Linked DNA regions of Homo sapiens: all the other regions are linked to region 3. The links are contacts of gene promoters, found by promoter capture Hi-C in blood cells and fetal thymus (Javierre and others, 2016). All regions are on one chromosome and are shown on one strand. The core of a region is centred on a gene start or on the middle of the fragment in contact, and the rest is flanking DNA. Distances in the headings are between cores, read along the strand shown. Region 1 has its middle 110 kb from the start of NUP35. Region 2 has its middle 130 kb from the start of NUP35. Region 3 holds the start of FSIP2 (fibrous sheath interacting protein 2).

Region 1 (2,846 bases), core at 235-2,734, 2.5 Mb after region 3:
AATGATTGACTTAGATTAATAATTTTCAGTCAATGCTTTATACGAAGCATTGAACATATATGTTTACCATATTTTTAAGTTTAATTAGAGAGTTTTTAAAAAACAGTGCTTTGGAAGACTTTATTAAGTCAAAGAATTATTTTTAAAGGAAATAAAGTATATCAAATATATAAAAACACTTGGAAATAAATATGTTTAAATTGAACTAAATATTATTCAAAGGGTCTTTAAATATATGTAACCTTTTCTAGACTTATAAACAAAATAATAAGATATGGAAGCTAAACTTAAGAGGCTAAGAACCAGGTATTACTAATTTTTTAAACTAAAAGTAAACTCTGAATAGTCTTCTCTGAACACAAAAAGTCACACTGAATAACACAAAAAATCACATATCCACATTTTATTCAGGGCTGTAAGTATAGACATTGGGAGGTGCTTATAACCCCGACAACTATTTATATCAGAGTTTAAGAGTGAGCCTCTCATACCAAAGAATGGACAGGGTGATTATGCATGCTTATTTAATATCTCACGTGTAAAACCAATGCTTTCTCTTTATGGGAGTTCAGTCTAATATTCACAAACTGAGGGAAATGAAGCAAACTGAAGTTGCATAGAACATAGTGACTTCTGAGAACGCTAAGTAGCTTAGTGAGGCTGACCATAAAGTACAGTGCAGCACAACTTTAAATCTCATAACATATTTGAACACAGAGATCAGAAATCGAGGAACACAGTTTGTTTTTTGTTTTGGGAGAGGTTTTCTTAGAGCTAGAAGCAACTCTAGAGAGATTACCTGTTTCGTTTTACCAATAGCAGAACTGCCTATGTCCAGTCTAACAGTCAATTAAATGCAAAGCCCAAATAAGCTATAGCTCTGTTATATGTTGTTAAAAAATTTTTCAGTGACTGGAATAACTTTCCCATAGAACACTTGACAATTCTTGATTGGAAGGCAAATACAATTACAGTATCATGATTAACAAATAAAAACAAAGGAACAGCAAAAGGTGCTTGAAAAGATGTTGAGAATAACTAGTTGAGTCCTCCAAGTAGAATGAAAAAGAGCCCTCAGATCTGCCGAACATTAGTGAAAGCAGCTGGAAATTTAAAGAATATTTTCTTTCTCTTTTTCTTTTTCTTTTTTCTTTTTTTTTTTTTTTTTTTTTTTTTTGAGACGGAGTCTCGCTCTGTCGCCCAGGCTGGAGTGCAGTGGTGCGATCTCGGTTCACTGCAGGCTCCGCCTCCCGGGTTCACGCCCTTCTCCTGCCTCAGCCTCCCGAGTAGCTGGGACCACAGGCGCCCGCCACCGAGCCCAGCTAAGAATATTTTCAAACTGGAATAATCTACATAAAGAAACTAAGTACTTGCCACTTGGTAGAAATGTAAATTAATAGAGTCATTATGGAAAACAGTATAGAGATTCCTCAAAAAATTAAAAACAGAACTACCATATGATCCGGCATGCTCACTATTGGGTATACATCCTAAGGAGATAAAAATCAGTATGTCAAAGAGATGTTTGCACTCCCATGTTCATTGCAGCATTATTCACAATAGCCAAGATATCTAATCAAACTAACTGTCCATCAGTGAATCAATGGATAAAAGAAACACAATGGAATACTATTCAGCCTTTAAAAGGAAGGAAACCCTGCCATTTAAGACAATATGGATGGACCTAGAGGACATTATATTGAGTGAAATAAACCAGTCAAAAGACAACTAATGCATTATCTTATTTAAATGTGGAATCTGAAAAAGCCTAAGTCATAGAAGCAGAGAATAGTCTAACAGCTAATTAAATGCAAAGCCTAAATAAGAAGCTATAGCGCTGTTATATGTTGTTTAAAAAATTTTTAACAAAAAAACAGGGAATGGGAATGGGGAGTGCGGATTGAAGAGATTTTGGTCAAAGGTTTAAAAATTTCAGTTAGACAGGAGGAATAAATTCAGGAGATATATTGTACAACATGGTAACAATAGTTAATAACAACGTATGGTATACTTGAAAATGTCAAGAGAATAGATTTTAAATGTTCCCACCACAAAACAAGGTTACGTATGTGAAGTAATTAGCTGTTAATTAGCTTCTTTTATCCATTCCACAATGTACACATATATTAAAACATTCTGAGCTGTGCGTGGTGGCTCATGCCTATAATCCCAGCACGTTGGGAGGCCGAGGCAGGTGGATCACTTGCGCTAGGAGTTCAAGACCAGTCTGTGCAACATGGAGAAACCCTGTCTCTACATAAAAAATTAAAAATTAGCCAGGCATGGTGGTGCATGCCTGTAGCCCTAGCTACTTGGGAGGCTGAGATGGAAGGATCACTTGAGCCCAGAAGGTCAAGGCTGCATTGAACAGTATTTGCCTCACTGTATTCCAGCGCTGGGTAACAAAGCAAGATCTTGTCTCAAAAAAAACCACAAAACATTATGTTGTACACCATAAATATATATATATATAATTTCATCAACTAACAATTTAAAAATAAAAATTAATTTTTAAAAAGAAATTAAGTACTTGCTTCTACATGAAAGGAAGTAAGAAAAAAGGTAGAAAAGGTACTGACACCCCTTGCCCATTCCAGGAAATCTGACAAAGTTGTGTTTTCAAACCTTTGTCATTCAGGTTCAACTTCTACAGTGTTTGATGTATCCTAATAACATTTGTCTCATTATTTACTTAATCTTTTTCTTTACATTGAATTTGGCCTTTTTCTATACAGTAATATTCTTGGGATCAAAACTCTGATGTGTTAGTTATATTATTTTTACTAATACACATTAAAATAAATACATTTCTATTAATTTGTCCTATTTTATCCATGCCTCAGCTG
Region 2 (2,770 bases), core at 198-2,697, 2.5 Mb after region 3:
GTGAAGATAATGTGGGGAAGGTCAATGGAGAGAGTCAAACAATTATGAGAAAAAGACTTCATCCTAGTGTGATCATTTGAACCCCGGAATTCAGACAATTCTATGACCTACTCCTGGAATATTTGGATATATAGTACATAAAAAAATCCCTTTTTTGCTTAACTCTTAACCTTTTATTTTAAAATACAACAGATACAGAGAGTCACACAAAATACCACTCTTGAAATCACCAGCGAAGTCAAGAAATAAAAATTTGCCAATTGTCTCAGAAGCCCCTTGTATTAGTCTGTTTTCACTCTAATAAAAACACACCCGAGACTGGCCAATTTGTAAAGAAAAATAGGTTTAATGGACTCACTGTTCCACATGGCTGGAGAGGCCTCACAATCATGGTGGAAGGAGAAAAGTTTGTCTTACATGGTAGCAGACGAGAGACAATGAGAGCCAAGTGAAAGCAGAAAACTCTTATAAAACCATCAGATCTCAAGAGACTTATTCACTACCAGGAGAACAGTATGGGGGAAACTACCCCCATGATTCAATTATCACCCACTGGGTCCTTCCCACATGTGGGAATTATGGGAGCTACAATTCAAGATGAGATTTGGGTGGGGACACAGCAAAACTGCATCACCCCTCTATGTGCCCTTCCTCTATCTCAAAAAAGTAATCACTATCTTGACTTTTATAGCAATAATTTCCTCATTTCTTTATAGTTTTGCCACCCAAATGTGCATCCCAAGCCACTATAGTTTATTGTTGTCCATTAAATTTTATTATCATTTAAATCCCTTTCATCTATGTGTTCTCCCCACCCTCTTTCTTTACATTTGATCTGTATTCGACCTGTCTGCTTTCCCAGTGAAGTTTGCCAATTACATATTCATGACACAGTTCAGCATGTTCCTCTGTACTCTGTCTTCTGTCTTCTGTTTCCAATTTCCAGCAAATTGGCAGCTAGAGTGAAAGGCTTGATCAGACTCAGGTTCAATGCCTTTAGCAAGACCACAGGTGGTATGGATCTTTAGTGAAATATAATGTCTAGTGGCCTCTTTCAATTGTGATACAAGCAGCTATTGTGGTTCAGTCTCATGTTGTAAGCAGACAATTTCTCCAAAGAAACCCTGGTTTCAAGACGACATATTTGACATTAGGAATACACATTACTACTGAGCTGGTCATTGTTTCTAGAATTCATCTCAGTCTTTCTCTCCATATTCATGAGTTCATGCTGACACTTCGAATTCAAATTCAAAGCTACAGAGTTTTTATTGTTGTTGTTTTAACTCAATCTTTTCTCAAACTTCTCTTTTCTAGTCTCAGTTATCTCTATTTTGCTTGACTTGCTCTGACTCTATTCCAAGCTGTTTCATCTTAGAGTGGGGCACTGTCCTGGAAAAGAATCCTTGCAAGTCTGTTTCAGTGGTGAATCTAGAAGCTAAACGATTCCAGATCCTTCAGCACACACTGTCATTCCCTTGCACTCACCCAATACCAGATTGAACAAAACCCTCTCAGTATTCATTGCTGTTCTCAAATTGGTCTGCTCACTTTATGGTGAACTTCTGTGACTATTTGGTTCTCCTCTTCTCCACTGATTCCTCTGCTCTGTCTCACTGTACAGGTCTTGGGTCAAGTGGTTTGTCTTCATATACTGTCTTTGGTTTGTGGGGATAGCCTGTCTCCCGGTTTTGTGGTAAATATTGTCAATAGGTTTTTAGTGTTGCTATCTAGCTGTCTACTTTTATGTAGGCATTTGGAGACACAACAACGCCTTCACTGCTGCCATATTCCCGGGATCACCCAAACTATTTTAAGTAGATTTTTGCCATTGTAAGTCAAGAGCGTATTGACTAACACAGCCCCCAGTTCTTTTTTTGTTTGTTTGTTTGTTTTGTTTGTTTGTTTTGTTTTGAGACGGAGTCTCGCTCTGTCGCCCAGGCTGGAGTGCAGTGGCGCGATCTCGGCTCACTGCAGGCTCTGCCTCCCGGGTTCACGCCATTCTCCTGCCTCAGCCTCCGGAGTAGCTGGGACTACAGGCGCCCGCCACCACGGCCGGCTAATTTTTTTTTTTGTATTCTTAGTAGAGACAGGGTTTCACCATGTTAGCCAGGATGGTCTCGATCTCCTGACCTCGTGATCCGCCCTCCTCGGCCTCCCAAAGTGCTGGGATTACAGGGGTGAGCCACCGCGCCCGGCCTCACAGCCCCCAGTCATTTATCTCATTAAAAGCTACCTTACATACACTAACATCAAACCATTAAATTAAAAGAAAATAGCATAATGATAATTTTAAATGCTTATAGTAAATATAGACTCTAAATGAATGGCTAAAAGTGAACAATATACTTTGAAATAAACCTTTTTGTTAGCTATTTTTTTATGGTCTTTAGTCCTTTAGTGGGTGCGCCTAACATTTTAAAGAAAAATGTCCAGCAGGAGATTTGCAAGTTTTCTTTAGCATAGGGCCCATGCCCTAGTTCTGTTAATCAATAGATTTGAGAACACAAACTCAAATCATGTTAAATTATTTCCCTAACACAACTGTTTACAGCAGTTATCTCATCTATTGATTAAAGAAATAAACTGAAAACTTACTCTACTGTGATCCGTAGCGTCAATGCTGCAGGTGAAACAACTTTATAAGGAAGTATTCAGGAAGAGAACCTCCTCAGACATGGTTCAAAATCGCTGGCTTTATATTAAGTTATGGTAAGTTTTTAGTACAAAATATGAACTAATTTTGAAAATTATCAGTGTTATTAATGAG
Region 3 (2,748 bases), core at 127-2,626:
GAAGACAAGGTATGCCAGGTTTGGGGGCAAAGTTGACAAAATACTGAAGTATTAGCATGGTATTTATGGGTAGGTGTGAAAGACTCAACTTGAAGAAGCTGAGCCTCTCTGGTTGGAGACAATGCTGGATGGAAAGGCTGGGGCAAATTATGGAGTCTCTTCCTCATTGAGGCAGGGCTTTCTTTCATTAAAGTAAGGTTAAAGTACTAAACATATTAACTCATTTTAAGTCCCACTGTTTCAGTTCTTTTTTTTTTCTTTATGTGTAAAATAGAATTCAACTCAAAACAAAATAATGTTTCCCGTGAAGAGAGTTTGGTCCAAGATACTGTCAGTTAAAATCGTAACATATCATTAAATGGCAGCTATCACTAATAACCTTTCAGCTTCTAAACATGTTTCTAAGTACATCAAATCTTACTATATAAGTATATATGAAGTTTTATTATAAGGAATATTAATATGGTACCGTGAATTGTTAATTAAGGACTAAGAATCTAAACTTTCTGGAATATGATTATGTCCAAACCATTAAGATGAAAGTGCTTCATATGCATTCTAAACAATACCTTCGGTCAGATGTGGGATTTTCTTTTTCCTGTAAATGTTGATGCAAATTCCTTTAATGAATTTTGTATGATGCAGCCTTTGAGTTAAACAGCAAGTAGTAAAGGGTAAAGGAAAGAAAGACGATAAAAACTTGTTCACCTTTTCACCGAAATTCGTAGTATAGAATACAGCATTGCTTCCTGGGATCACAGGCAGCTTGACCCCGAGAGGTAGGTCCAGTAGCTGAGCCGGTCCAACCCCTGCAAAGTGGGTTTTGTGCACGCCCTGTCAGACACAATTGGAGAGTTTTGTCTTTCCTTTTAGGCAGTATTAGTTTAGTTTAGACCAATCTACTTCCATTGCAACCAAAGACTCCGAAGAATTATACAATCAGGGTTCGGGGCATCCTGAAGTCCTCCCGTTTTCCCTGGTCACCAGCTCTCCTGGCGTCCCGCGCCTGCCAGTTGCGGCCGGTACAGTCCGAGCCACCGCCACCGCCCCCGGGCGCCGCAAGAGGGCAGCCTCCTGACGGGGGACAGTTGGGAGCCTCGCGACCCGTGTGTGGCGATCCCTGCCCCGCTCCCCAGCAGGCCTGCGGCCGCCAGAGGGCGACGCCGCCCAGCTTGCGGCCACTCACGTCTCTGCACTGCTGGGTGTCCGCGGCCAGGACGCTGGCGACCGTCTTGGTGACGGCGACTTTGGCAGGCTTGGAGCAGGCGCCGAGGTACAGCTCCATGGCCGGCACAGCCCCCTCAGCCCCTTCCTCACCCGCCCCGCTCTCCTTCTCTAGCACCCCGTTGTCCCTCTGTCCGGACCTGACCAGGAATGGCCAGAGCCCAACGACCTCAGCCCCGCCCCCCGCGTTCCAGGCTTCCAATGGTAGCGGCCCCAGAAGGGCGGTGGCCTCCTGAGGGGCGGCTCGCGCCAGCGCGTAGAGCGCCCGCAGAGCTGGGAAAATCGGTCCGAGAGGCCTGATCTGAGAGGACCACAGTTGAAACTTCATCTTTCTCTGAAACCATCACGCCTTAGCCAATCCTAACGAAAACGTATAAGCTTTGTTGGTGGGTAACTGGTTAATTTCCCCTGGCTTCCAAGGAGCCCTGTTCCGTTCAATAAAAATTCCCGAGTGATTGTTTTTGCCCATTCTACATCTTCCCCCATATAGACCACACCCCATCCCCAGGCTCCCACAGCTTCTTCCCACACCAGGTCCACAAGGCAGACGCGTTGGCTTCCTAAGGGGCTCATTGCCTTCCTCCTGCCTCTTCTGTCCCCTAGGTTTCCTTCTCCTTTCTAGCGCCCTTTACCACTCTCCCACTGCCTCCTCTCTGCTCCTGCAGCTTGATCCTATTTCCCTCTTTCTCCTCAACCATCCAGCCGAAATTTATAAAGTGCTTGACGCTTCTGGGCCAGTCATTGAGCTAAGCACTGGGCAGGACACAGCCGTGAGTAAAATATGGCCCCTGACTGTAAGAAGCTAACTAGACTGGGAGTATTCTGAGGGCAGAGACAGTATGTGTCTAACCCACCTGTTGTTTAGACTTAACTTCATACTTTCTTTGGTCCACTGCTGTTCTCTTTTATTTCTGGCCCGACTAGTAATAACAGTTACCATTTCTTCAGAATCTACTAACTTCCATATACTGTGCCAAACACCCTTTTAAACATTTATTTATTTTAGTAGCCTTATCAATAATTACTCTTTATTTTTCAAAGATTGAGGAAGACTGACAATTGCTGTTAAATGGTGGCTCCTGAGGCTGTTTTCTTAATCAGTGCACTCTGCTCTCTTTGTTGTAATTCCACACATGTGCTTAGGACTCTTAAATTTGAAATCTAAGCTTGGGATATAGTCTATTGCCAGCTTCCATATGGATATCCCACAATTGTCTTAAATTCAATCTACTCAAATCTCAACACACAACTTTCACCAAAACAGGAAAAAAAAACAAAGGCTTCTTCCTGCATTTCCTATCTCAGTGACAATACCAAAGTCTACCCAAGCCAGAAACTAAGGAATGCTTCTAGATACTTCTTTTTCCCCTTATCTCCCATGTTTAGTTGGTCCCCAAGTCCCACTAATTTTATCACTAAAATTAATTTGCCCGATTCTATCTACTCCTACTTTACTCTCCCGGTTAAGCCGCTAATCATTTTTTGTTTGTTTGTTTGTTTGCACCATTGCCACAGCCTTATAAC

Evidence for each region. The method cuts DNA at HindIII sites, captures the fragments that hold promoters and counts their contacts. A CHiCAGO score of 5 or more calls a contact.
Region 1: a contact is called between a fragment that was not itself captured here and the fragment with the promoter of FSIP2 in region 3, in 3 of 17 cell types (M1 macrophages, M0 macrophages and M2 macrophages). The highest score is 14.9, in M1 macrophages.
Region 2: a contact is called between a fragment that was not itself captured here and the fragment with the promoter of FSIP2 in region 3, in 3 of 17 cell types (M0 macrophages, M2 macrophages and M1 macrophages). The highest score is 12.9, in M0 macrophages.

What each region holds. Positions count from the first base shown.
Region 1 is chr2:183,237,631-183,240,476 of GRCh38, reverse strand. No RefSeq gene overlaps it. Among named protein-coding and RNA genes, the nearest start is that of NUP35, 110 kb to the right of the region's middle. The HindIII fragment of the contact is 4,724 bases long and covers 1-2,846 here.
Region 2 is chr2:183,257,093-183,259,862 of GRCh38, reverse strand. No RefSeq gene overlaps it. Among named protein-coding and RNA genes, the nearest start is that of NUP35, 130 kb to the right of the region's middle. The HindIII fragment of the contact is 2,988 bases long and covers 1-2,770 here.
Region 3 is chr2:185,737,432-185,740,179 of GRCh38, reverse strand. It overlaps FSIP2 (fibrous sheath interacting protein 2), which reads right to left and starts at 1,376. Exons shown (of 23, transcript NM_173651.4): 1 at 1,187-1,376; 2 at 709-834. The coding sequence starts at 1,285. All of the region lies in intron 1 of FSIP2-AS2 (FSIP2 antisense RNA 2), which reads left to right. RefSeq lists a silencer at 975-1,244. The HindIII fragment of the contact is 3,199 bases long and covers 1-1,604 here.